Regions from separate parts of the Homo sapiens genome. Here region 2 is linked to region 1. The links are contacts of gene promoters, found by promoter capture Hi-C in human tissues and cell types (Jung and others, 2019). All regions are on one chromosome and are shown on one strand. The core of a region is centred on a gene start or on the middle of the fragment in contact, and the rest is flanking DNA. Distances in the headings are between cores, read along the strand shown. Region 1 holds the start of AHDC1 (AT-hook DNA binding motif containing 1). Region 2 has its middle 9.6 kb from the start of WASF2.

Region 1 (4,551 bases), core at 1,363-3,862:
CAGTCTCTGGGGATTACTCCAACTATTGACACAGCAGGAGAAAAAAATGAATTCAACTTACTATCCAGTTTGATTTTCCATTACTATAAAAATAAATATACATCTGCTCAAAGGAGGGAGATGGCAAGCAGCATGCACATGCCACCTGGGGGGTCCCCCCACAACCCAGCCTTCCTACCCCCCCACCCCAGGTTGGGGGACAGACTGGTAATCTTTCACTTACAGCCCCAGCTCACACAGCCACACAGAACAGGAACAAGCCAACAATAGAAACACCCCAAATGCCCCTGGCAGGACTCTGCCCAGGCCCGGGCACATGCCCCCGCCCAGCCGGCGGCGACAGCAGCAGCGGACAAAATGTGGCCACCCTGACCCGGAGGCAAAGCTTGTCCTCACACCCTGAGCTCTGCCCAGGGAGCTGGGGCCAAGTCCCGCCTGACACCAACTGGTCCGGCGGGAAACGCCTGCCCAGCCAGACAGGCACAGGCCCCCCAAGGGTCCCTCCTTGTGCTCAGGGACCAGGCTGGTACAGTCCGGCCCTGCCTCCCAGGGTGACGCCTGGGCCCAAATTCAGCTGGCCCTGCCAGTCAGGCACTGGTGCAGAACCGAGGGCACCAGGCTCAGCCCCTCCCAGCCCAGCCCCAGGGCCCCCAAGCTGGGAGGGAGGGGAGACTCCCCACCCCTCCACATCTGGCCCTGGCCCCCAGGGTCTGCGGTAGAGAATTCCCGCCCCCGCTTCTCTCCCTCCTCCCGCTCTGTGCCCGCTGCCCGCCTCAGGGACAGCCCCAGCTCCCGCCTCCGGCCAGCAAGGCCCACATCCTTCCTCCCTCAGCTGGCCCCTTCGCCTGGCAGGAGGCTGGGGGGTCAGGCTGCTGGGGAACCCCCCCAAGCTCCCATCAGTCCTCATCCCCAGCCCCCAAACTCTGGGTTGCTGTCCCTTTTCCTGTAGAACAGGAAACAAGGTTATTTCCTAGACTCAGAGCCAGCCCCCTGCCCCTCTGGCTCTGCCCGGGGACCCAGACCCAGCAGGGGAAGGCGCCCTCAAGCAGCGAGCAGAGATTCAGCAATTCACCCCAGCTCCCTGCCTAGGGGGCTGACAGCTGTCACTCAGCACCCCACCCCCTGGGGAAGAGGGGGCCGATTCAATCAGAGCCCCAGAGGAAACGCATTGATAGGCGATTATTTATTTATTTATGCAAAAGTGAGCCGACTTTGTTCGCCAGGTAACCGGGCACGCGGCCCAACCCCTCCAGCCCTAGCCGCCCCCAAATCCCTCCTCCGCCCCACACCCCCTCCGGGTCATTAGGTCCCCGCCCCTCAACTCCCCGAGAGCCAGTGGATCCTAGGGATTTGGGGGTTGGAGGGGAGGGGCTCCTCCCTCCGCAGTCTCCCCTTTTCCCAGCGCCGATCCTAAAATCCAGCCTTGTTCTCCGCTCCCACGGTCCCCCCTTCATTCCCCCCCCCCCCACATTCTCAGCAAGCTGGAGAGCAAATTGCAGTTTTAAATCCAAAGGCGGAGGGAGGGGGAAGGAGGAGGGGGCGCGCGGCAGCGCTGGGCGCGCACCTCGCCCCCGAGCCGGGGGAGCCGCGGGGCGGCCAGGAAACCCGAGAACCCCCCCTCCCCGCCCCCCCTCCCCGTCCACCTCCCCCTCCCCCTTCCCGGCGCTGCCTGCCAGGCTTCGAGCCGAGCCCAGCCGAGCCGCGGGCCCCGGTGGAAACAAAGACCGATCGCACCGCGGGCACCGCAGCCACCGGGTCCAGCGGACCGGACCGGGGGACGCAGGCCCCCCCCGTGCGCTGCACAAAAGAGCCTGGCCGGCCGGTCCCCAGCGGGGGTCTGGGGCTGGGGAGGAGGCGCCACTCACCGGAGTGCTGGGCTGCCGGCTCCGTGGGTCCGAGCCAGGCGAGGGGTTTTGGGGGACGTCTGTCTTCCGGCGGTGGCAGCGACGCGGGCGCCCGGCTGCTGAGGAGAGGAGTCGTGGAGGAGCCCTGAGCCGCCCGCCGTCGCTGACAGCATGGCTCGCGCCTCGGCTCACATTCTCCGCCGCTAACTCCGCTGGACACGGCCCCCCGCTCCCGCGGCGCCCCCCCACCTCGATCACTCCTTCGCTCTCTCTGCGCCCCCCTCGCCCTCCCGCCGCGCACACACTCTCCCAGCCCTGGACACCCCCGCCCCCACCCCCCCCAATAGCAAACCTGGGAGGGAACGCGCCCCGCGTAGTCCTCCTGCTCCTCCTCCTCCGCCCTCCTCCCTCCCGCTCTCTCTGGCTGTCTGTCTGTCTCTCAGACTGTCTCTATTTCTCGCTCTCTCTGCCTTTCTCTGCTCTCCAAGCTGGGTGGGAAAAGGAAATGAGGACAGAAAGCAGACGCTGGCTTTGGGTGGTGGTAGCTGGATTCCCTCTCTCCCTCCCTCCCCCTCCTCCCCTCCCTCCTCCTGCCTTCTGCTCTCTCCGCTGCGAGCGGGGCTGAGCGCAGCCTGGCGGGTGGCTCGCTCTGCCCGCCCGCCCGCCTGTCTGTCTGTCTGGTCCGCCTCGCTCGCTCCCTCCCTCCGTCTCTCGCCCTCGCCCTGCCTGCCTGCCTCTCTCCGTCTCCGCCGCCGCCGCCGCTGCCTCTGCGAGCTCGCCTTACCTTCGCCGCTCACCATCCGGAACCCCAGGGGGGAGCGCGCGCGCGGCACGCCGGGACTTGTAGTCCCCGCCCCGGCCGCTCCGCGCGCGGGGAGGGCGGGGCCGCGCCGGCTGCTCCGACGGCGCGGCCAGGAGCCCCGGGGACCCCGCGCCTGGGGCTCGTCTGGCTGGAGCGCGTCCTCGTTTACCAACGGGCGAAGATCCTCCCCAAGGGTTAAGAATGGTCCCTGTGTTCCTTGTCTCCACCGGGGGGCTCTGGATCGAGCGGAGGTTGCGGGTGGGAGTGAAGGGGCGGGGTCTGAGAGTGGAATGGGAGTGGAATAGGGAACCAGGGGATTAGCCAAAGGGGCTGCGACTTTCTGGGGCGTCCCAATTAAATGGGAGGGGGAGAGGGCAGAGGAGAGGACCGGCTCTCTCAATCTGGGGACGTTATCCTTTTCTGAAAAGGTTTCTTATTGAGTAAAGCTCAAGTATATATGGCGGGAGGGCTGCTGGGGCGGGGGAGCGGGGGAGACCCAGCCAGCGCTGCTTCCTCACTCAGTGACCCCTCCTCTCAAACTCCGACCTCGGTTTCGCCCTTGCAACTCCCAGCTTTCCTATATGTCCAAGGGCGGCGAGGGCTCAAAAGTCCTGGATAATCCGCAGATAGAACACACACACCCTTTTCCGAATTCTGCTGAGCATTTGCGTTGTGTCAGGAAGCAGGATTCAGATTGAACGGTGCTGACCTCCTGCCGCGGCCGGGGGCTGGGCTCAGCACTTTCACCTACCTCCTCTTCAGGTCACATGTGTTCTCCAGCCCCTGCCTAGCCTATCCCACAGATGGGAATGTGCGCTGCTTGGGGGCCTTGTTACCGCCCCCGGAGATGGCTGAACTGCTGCGGTAAAATAGTGCTGTTATTTCCATTTTAGAGATGGGGGCACTGAGGTCCAGGTTCTCCAGTTAGCAAGTGGCTGAACCCAGCTGGATTTGAACCAGGGTCTGACTAACTCCAAACCCCACAAGCTTAACCCCTGGGCTATGACAAGGAGTTGTGACTCCCTCCATTTCTGTAACTGACCTTCTCTCCCTGTGTCTGTGTGTCCTTTCTTGGCACTTCAACAAATGTTAACTGAGGTATGCAGGGCTTGCAAGGGACACGGAGATGAATAATGCATAGTGGCTGTCGTGTCCTGTGTCCTAGGTGTCTACCAACGCCGGCCCTGACTGGCCCTGCGGCGGTCCCACCTCACTGGACCACCTCATCTGTGTGTCTGATGTTCCACACCCTGTGTCTGCTGGCCTTGTCTATCTTGCTCCAGGTCTGAAGTTCCTAGAGCAGTGCCTTTGTCTCTGGCCTACCTGTTTCTGACTCTTCCTTTGGCCTTGCAGGGTGTTGGCCAGTGTGTGACAAAGGCAGCTGGTGACATTTTGCCAACCGCAACTCCCTGGTCACTATCTTCCCCACACCTTCACTCCTTCCAAGCTCCTTCTCTATGGCAGTCCAGTACCCCCAGAGGACAAGAGAGGGGATCTGGGGAACACTCTCTATTGGCCCTTGGCAGAGGGTGTGTGCAGCAGTAATAGGAGAGGTCTAGGGCTCTAAACGGGACACTATTGATTTGGCATCATGGGGCTGCCATGACCGACTGGAGAGGCCCTCATCTTGGAGCAGCTTCTCCTTGCAGACAAGTTAGGACTTGGGTTCAAAGATTTATTCATTGAATGGGAAATATAAGGTCAGATGCTCATAAAAGTAGTGGCTAAAGTCATTAGAGATTCTGCAGCTCCAAAGCCTGGGCCTGAAGTGATCCCAAATAGATGAGGCTTTGGCACCTTGCCCTAGCTGGCCCCCTATAGGACAGACAGACTTCGGCGTTGGGGAGGGTGAAAGAGACCCAGGTTCCTCCTCCTTTCTCTCCCTTCCCCCATTACCCATTAGAT
Region 2 (4,709 bases), core at 975-3,474, 100 kb before region 1:
TGGGGTGGGTGGGAGGGGCAGAGAGACCTAGGTTCAAATCCCATTCCTGCCACTTACCCAGCAAGTGACCTTAGCAAGCTGCCTGGCCTGTTTACGCCTCATTTCTTTGTAAAAGGGGACAATAATCCCTGTCTCTCAGGCTGCTGTGAGGACCAAGTGAGATGGCAGATAAAACTGCCTGGCAGGACCAAAGTGTTCAGCAATAACAGTGATAGGAAATACACAGTGCCCATGTGTACCTGGCATAGTTCTCAGCACCTTGCATATATTTACCTATTTAACTCCTGATACGGTAGATATTATTACTAACCCCAGTTTGCAGATGAGGAAACTGAGGCACAAGGAGATTTCTATAACTTGCACATGCTCACACAGCCAGTAAGGGGTAGAGCTTAATCTGTGCTCTTACTCATCACACTATGGCACATTTAGTGATAGTTCCCATGATGATGATGCTGCTGCTGATGATTATGATTTTTCTTTTTTTTTTTTTTTGAGATGGAGTCTCGCTCTGTCACCCAGGCTGGAGTGCAGTGGCATGATCTCAGCTCACTGCAATCTCCGCCTCCTGGGTTTAAGTGATTCTCACGTCTCAGCCTCCTGAGTAGCTAAGATTGCAGACACCCACCACCATGCCCAGCTAATTTTTGTATTTTTTGAAGATGGGGTTTCACCATGTTGGCCAAGCTCGTCTCGAACTCCCGACCTCGTGATCTGCCCACCTCGGCCTCCCAAAGTGCTGGGATTACAGGCGTGAGCCACCGTGCCCAGCCTGTTTTTATTGGTACTATGCCCTCAGTAAGTACCTGTTATTCTCTTTCCTCCTACCTTCAAAATCCTGCTTGAATTTTTTTTTTTTTTTTTTTTTTTTTGAGACAGAGTTTCACTCTTGTTGCCCAGGCTGGAGTGCAATGGCGCCATCTCAGCTCACCACAACCTCCGCCTCCAGGGTTCAAGCAATTCTCCTGCCTCAGGCTCCCGAGTAGCTGGGATTACAGGCATGTGCCACCACGCCTGGCTAATTTTAAATTTTTAGTAGAGACAGTGTTTCTCCATGTTGGTCAGGCTGGTCTTAAACTCCCGACCTCAGGTGATCCTCCCACCTCAGCCTCCCAAAGTGCTGGGATTACAGGTGTGAGCCACCGCACCCGGCCTGAATTATTTATTTATTTTTGTTTTTTATTTTTTTGAGACAAGGTCTCACTCTGTCGCCAGACTGGAGTGCAGTGGTGCTATCTCAGCTCACTGCAGCCTCTACCTCCTGGACTCAAGTGATTTTCCCACCTCAGCCTCCAAGTAGCTGGGACTACAGGTGCGTGCCACCATGCTCGGCAAATTTTTATTTATTTATTTATTTTTTGTAGAGACGGGGTTTTGCCATGTTGCCCAGGCTGGTCTTCTTCTTCTTCTTTTTTTAAATAGAGATGGGGGTGGGGCTGGGGGTCTTGCTATGTTGGCCAGGTTGGTCTTTAACTTTTGGCCTCAAGCAATCCTCCTGCCTTGGCCTCCCAAAGTGCTAGGATTACAAGCATGAGCCACCCGGCCCAGCCTCCCAGGCTTGTATTGAACTCCTGAGCACAAGCAATCTGCCCACCTTGGCCTCCCAAAGTGCTGGGATTACAGGTATGAGCCACGGCACCCAGCCCAAAATCCTGCCTCAGTTTTACCCCCTTCATGACATCTTCCAGTCTATTCATTTAATAAGGATACATTGCTGCCTGCCCTGGCCAGGCTTGTGCAGGGCACTGGGGACGGAGGGATCAGTCCACTCAGACTCTGCCCTTGAGTGGCTCCCAATCTGATGAGGGAGAAGATATACATAAAAATTACAATAAAAGCGGAAGACACTGATTGCAGTAGGAGCTATGAGCTTATAGAAGTAGAGAACTTAACTGGGAGATTGGGACAGGCTTACAGAGGAAGGGCCATTTGGAAGGGGTTTTGAAGGGTGAGTAGGAGTTCCTCAGGCAGAATTAGGAAGTAGGAACAGAATATGATCTACCCTGCAAAGTGGACTGAATAAAAAAAGCCTGAGGAATAAAAACCCTAGAAGAAAACCTAGGCAACACCATTCAGGACATAGGCATGGGCAAAAACACCAAAAGCAATTGCAACAAAAGCCAAAATTGACAAGTGGGATCTAATTAAACTAAAGAGCTTCTGCACAGCAGAAGAAACTATTATCGGCCGGGCACAGCGGCTCACGCCTGTAATCTCAGCACTTTGGGAGGCTGAGACGGGCAGATCACGAGGTCAGGAGATTGAGACCATCCTGGCTAACACAGTGAAACCCCATCTCTACTAAAAATACAAAAAAATTAGCTGGGCGTGGTGGCGGGTGCCTGTAGTCCCAACTACTCGGGAGGCTGAGGCAGGAGAATGGCGTGAACCCGGGAGGCGGAGCTTGCAGTGAGCCGAGATCACACCACTGCACACACCAGGCTGGGAGACAGAGGGAGACTCCGTCTTAAAAAAAAAAAAAAAAAAAAAAAAAAGAGAGAGAGAAAAAAGAAACTATCATCAGAATGAACAGGCAACCTACAGAATGGGAGAAAATTTTTTCAGTCTACTGATCTGACAAAGGTCTAATATCCGGAATCTACAAGGAACTTAAACATATTTATAAGAAAAAAACAACCCCATCAAAAAGTGAGTTAAGGATATGAACACTTCTCAAAAGAAGATATTTACATGGCCAACAAACGCAGGAAAAAAAGCTCAACATCACTGGCCATCAGAGAAATGCAAATCAAAACCACAAAGAGATACCATCTCACGCCAGTCAGAATGGCAGTTATTTTTATTTATTTATTTATTTTTGAGACGGAGTCTTGCTGTGTCACCAGGTTGGAGTGCAGTGGCGTGATCTCAGCTCACTGCAACCTCCGTCTCCCAGGTTCAAGAGATTCTTCTGCCTCAGGCTCCCCAGTAACTGGGACTACAGGCGGGTGCCACCACACCCAGCTAACTTTTTTTTTTTTTTTTTTTGACAGAGTCTCGCTCTGTCACTCAGGCTGGAGTGCAGTGGTGCGATCTCGGCTCATTGCAAGCTCCGCCTCCCAGGTTCACGCCATTCTTCTGCCTCAGCCTCCCGAGTAGCTGGGACTACAAGCGCCTGCCACCACACCTGGCTAATTTTTTTTTTTTTTTTTGTATTTTTAGTAGAGACTGGGTTTCACTGTGTTAGCCAGGATGGTCTCGATCTCCTGACCTCATGATCCACCCATCTTGGCCTCCCACAGTGTTGGGATTACAAGCATGAGCCACTGCGCCTGGCCAGAATGGCAGTTATTAAAAAGTCAGGAAACAATAGATGCTGGTGAGGCTGTGGTGAAATAGGAACGCTTTTACATTGTTGGTGAGAATGTTAATTAGTTCAACCATTGTGGAAGATATTGTGGCAATTCCTCAAGGGTCTAGAACCAGCAATACCATTTGACCCAGCAATCCCATTACTGGGTATATACCCAAAGGAATATAAATCATTCTACTGGCCGGGCGCGGTGGCTCACGCCTGTAATCCCAGCACTGTGGCAGGCCGAGGTAGGCGGATCACGAGGTCAGGAGATCGAGACCATCCTGGCTAACGCAGTGAAACCCTGTCTCTACTAAAAATACAAAAAATTGGCTGGGCATGGTAGCGGGCGCCTGTAGTCCCAGCTATTCCGGAGGCTGAGGCAGGAGAATGGCGTGAACCCAGGAGGTGGAGCTTGCAGTGAGCCGAGATCGTGCCACTACACTTCAGCCTGGGTGACAGAGCAAGACTCCGTCTCAAAAAATAAAATAAAATAAAATAAATCATCCTACTATAAAGACACATGCACATGTATGTTTATTGCAGCACTATTTACAATAGCAAAGACATGGAACCAACTCAAATGCCCATCAATGATAGACTGGATAAAGAAAATGTGGTACATATACACCATGGAATACTATGCAGCCATAAAAAGGAATGAGATCATGTCCTTTGCAGGGACATGGATGAAGCTGGAAGCCATCATCCTCAGCAAATTAACACAAGAACAGAAAACCAAACACCGCATGTTCTCACTCATAAGTGGGAGTTGAACATTGAGAACACATGGACACAGAGAGGGGAATAGCACACACCAGGGCCTGTTTGAGGTTTGGAGGGTGAGGGGAGGGAACTTAGAGGATGGATCAGTAGGTGCAGCAAACCACCGTGGCACACGAATGCCTATGTAACAAACCTGCACGTTCTGCACATGTATCCCATTTTTTTTAGAAGAAATAAAAAAAAAAAAGAAACGACTGGAGAGTAACATGTCTTGGGTCAGTTTTATGTTAGGTTCCATACTAGGCACTGCAGGTATAGAAGTAGAAAAATATGGCTGGGCGCGGTGGCTTAAGCCTGTAATCCGAGCACTTTGGGAGGCCGAGGCGGGTGGATCACCTGAGGTCAGGAGTTCAAGACCAGCCTGACAAACATGGAGAAACCCCGTTCTCTACTAAAAGTACAAAATTAGCCGGGCATGGTGGCACATGTCTGTAATCCCAGCTAGTCGGGAGGCTGAGGCAGGAGAATCGCTTGAACCCACGTGGCAGAGGTTGTGGTGAGCCGAGATCACGCCATCGCACTCTAGCCTGGGCAACAAGAGCAAACTCCACCTCAAAAAAAAAAAAAAAAAAGAAGTAGAAAAATATTGACCGAGTGCAGTGGCTCATGCCTGTAATCCCAAATCTCA

What was found. The method cuts DNA at HindIII sites, captures the fragments that hold promoters and counts their contacts. A contact is called where the count stands out against the background at its distance.
Region 2: a contact is called between a fragment that was not itself captured here and the fragment with the promoter of AHDC1 in region 1, in 4 of the 25 tissues and cell types used here (dorsolateral prefrontal cortex, mesendoderm cells, spleen and 1 more).

Annotation. Positions count from the first base shown.
Region 1 is chr1:27,601,532-27,606,082 of GRCh38, forward strand. AHDC1 (AT-hook DNA binding motif containing 1) reads right to left here and starts at 2,613. Exons shown (of 9, transcript NM_001371928.1): 1 at 2,575-2,613; 2 at 2,197-2,332; 3 at 1,866-1,963. RefSeq lists enhancers at 1-581, 405-454, 1,255-1,304 and silencers at 1,788-1,867, 2,418-2,957. The HindIII fragment of the contact is 10,400 bases long and covers 162-4,551 here.
Region 2 is chr1:27,497,394-27,502,102 of GRCh38, forward strand. No RefSeq gene overlaps it. Among named protein-coding and RNA genes, the nearest start is that of WASF2, 9.6 kb to the left of the region's middle. The HindIII fragment of the contact is 9,908 bases long and covers 1-4,709 here.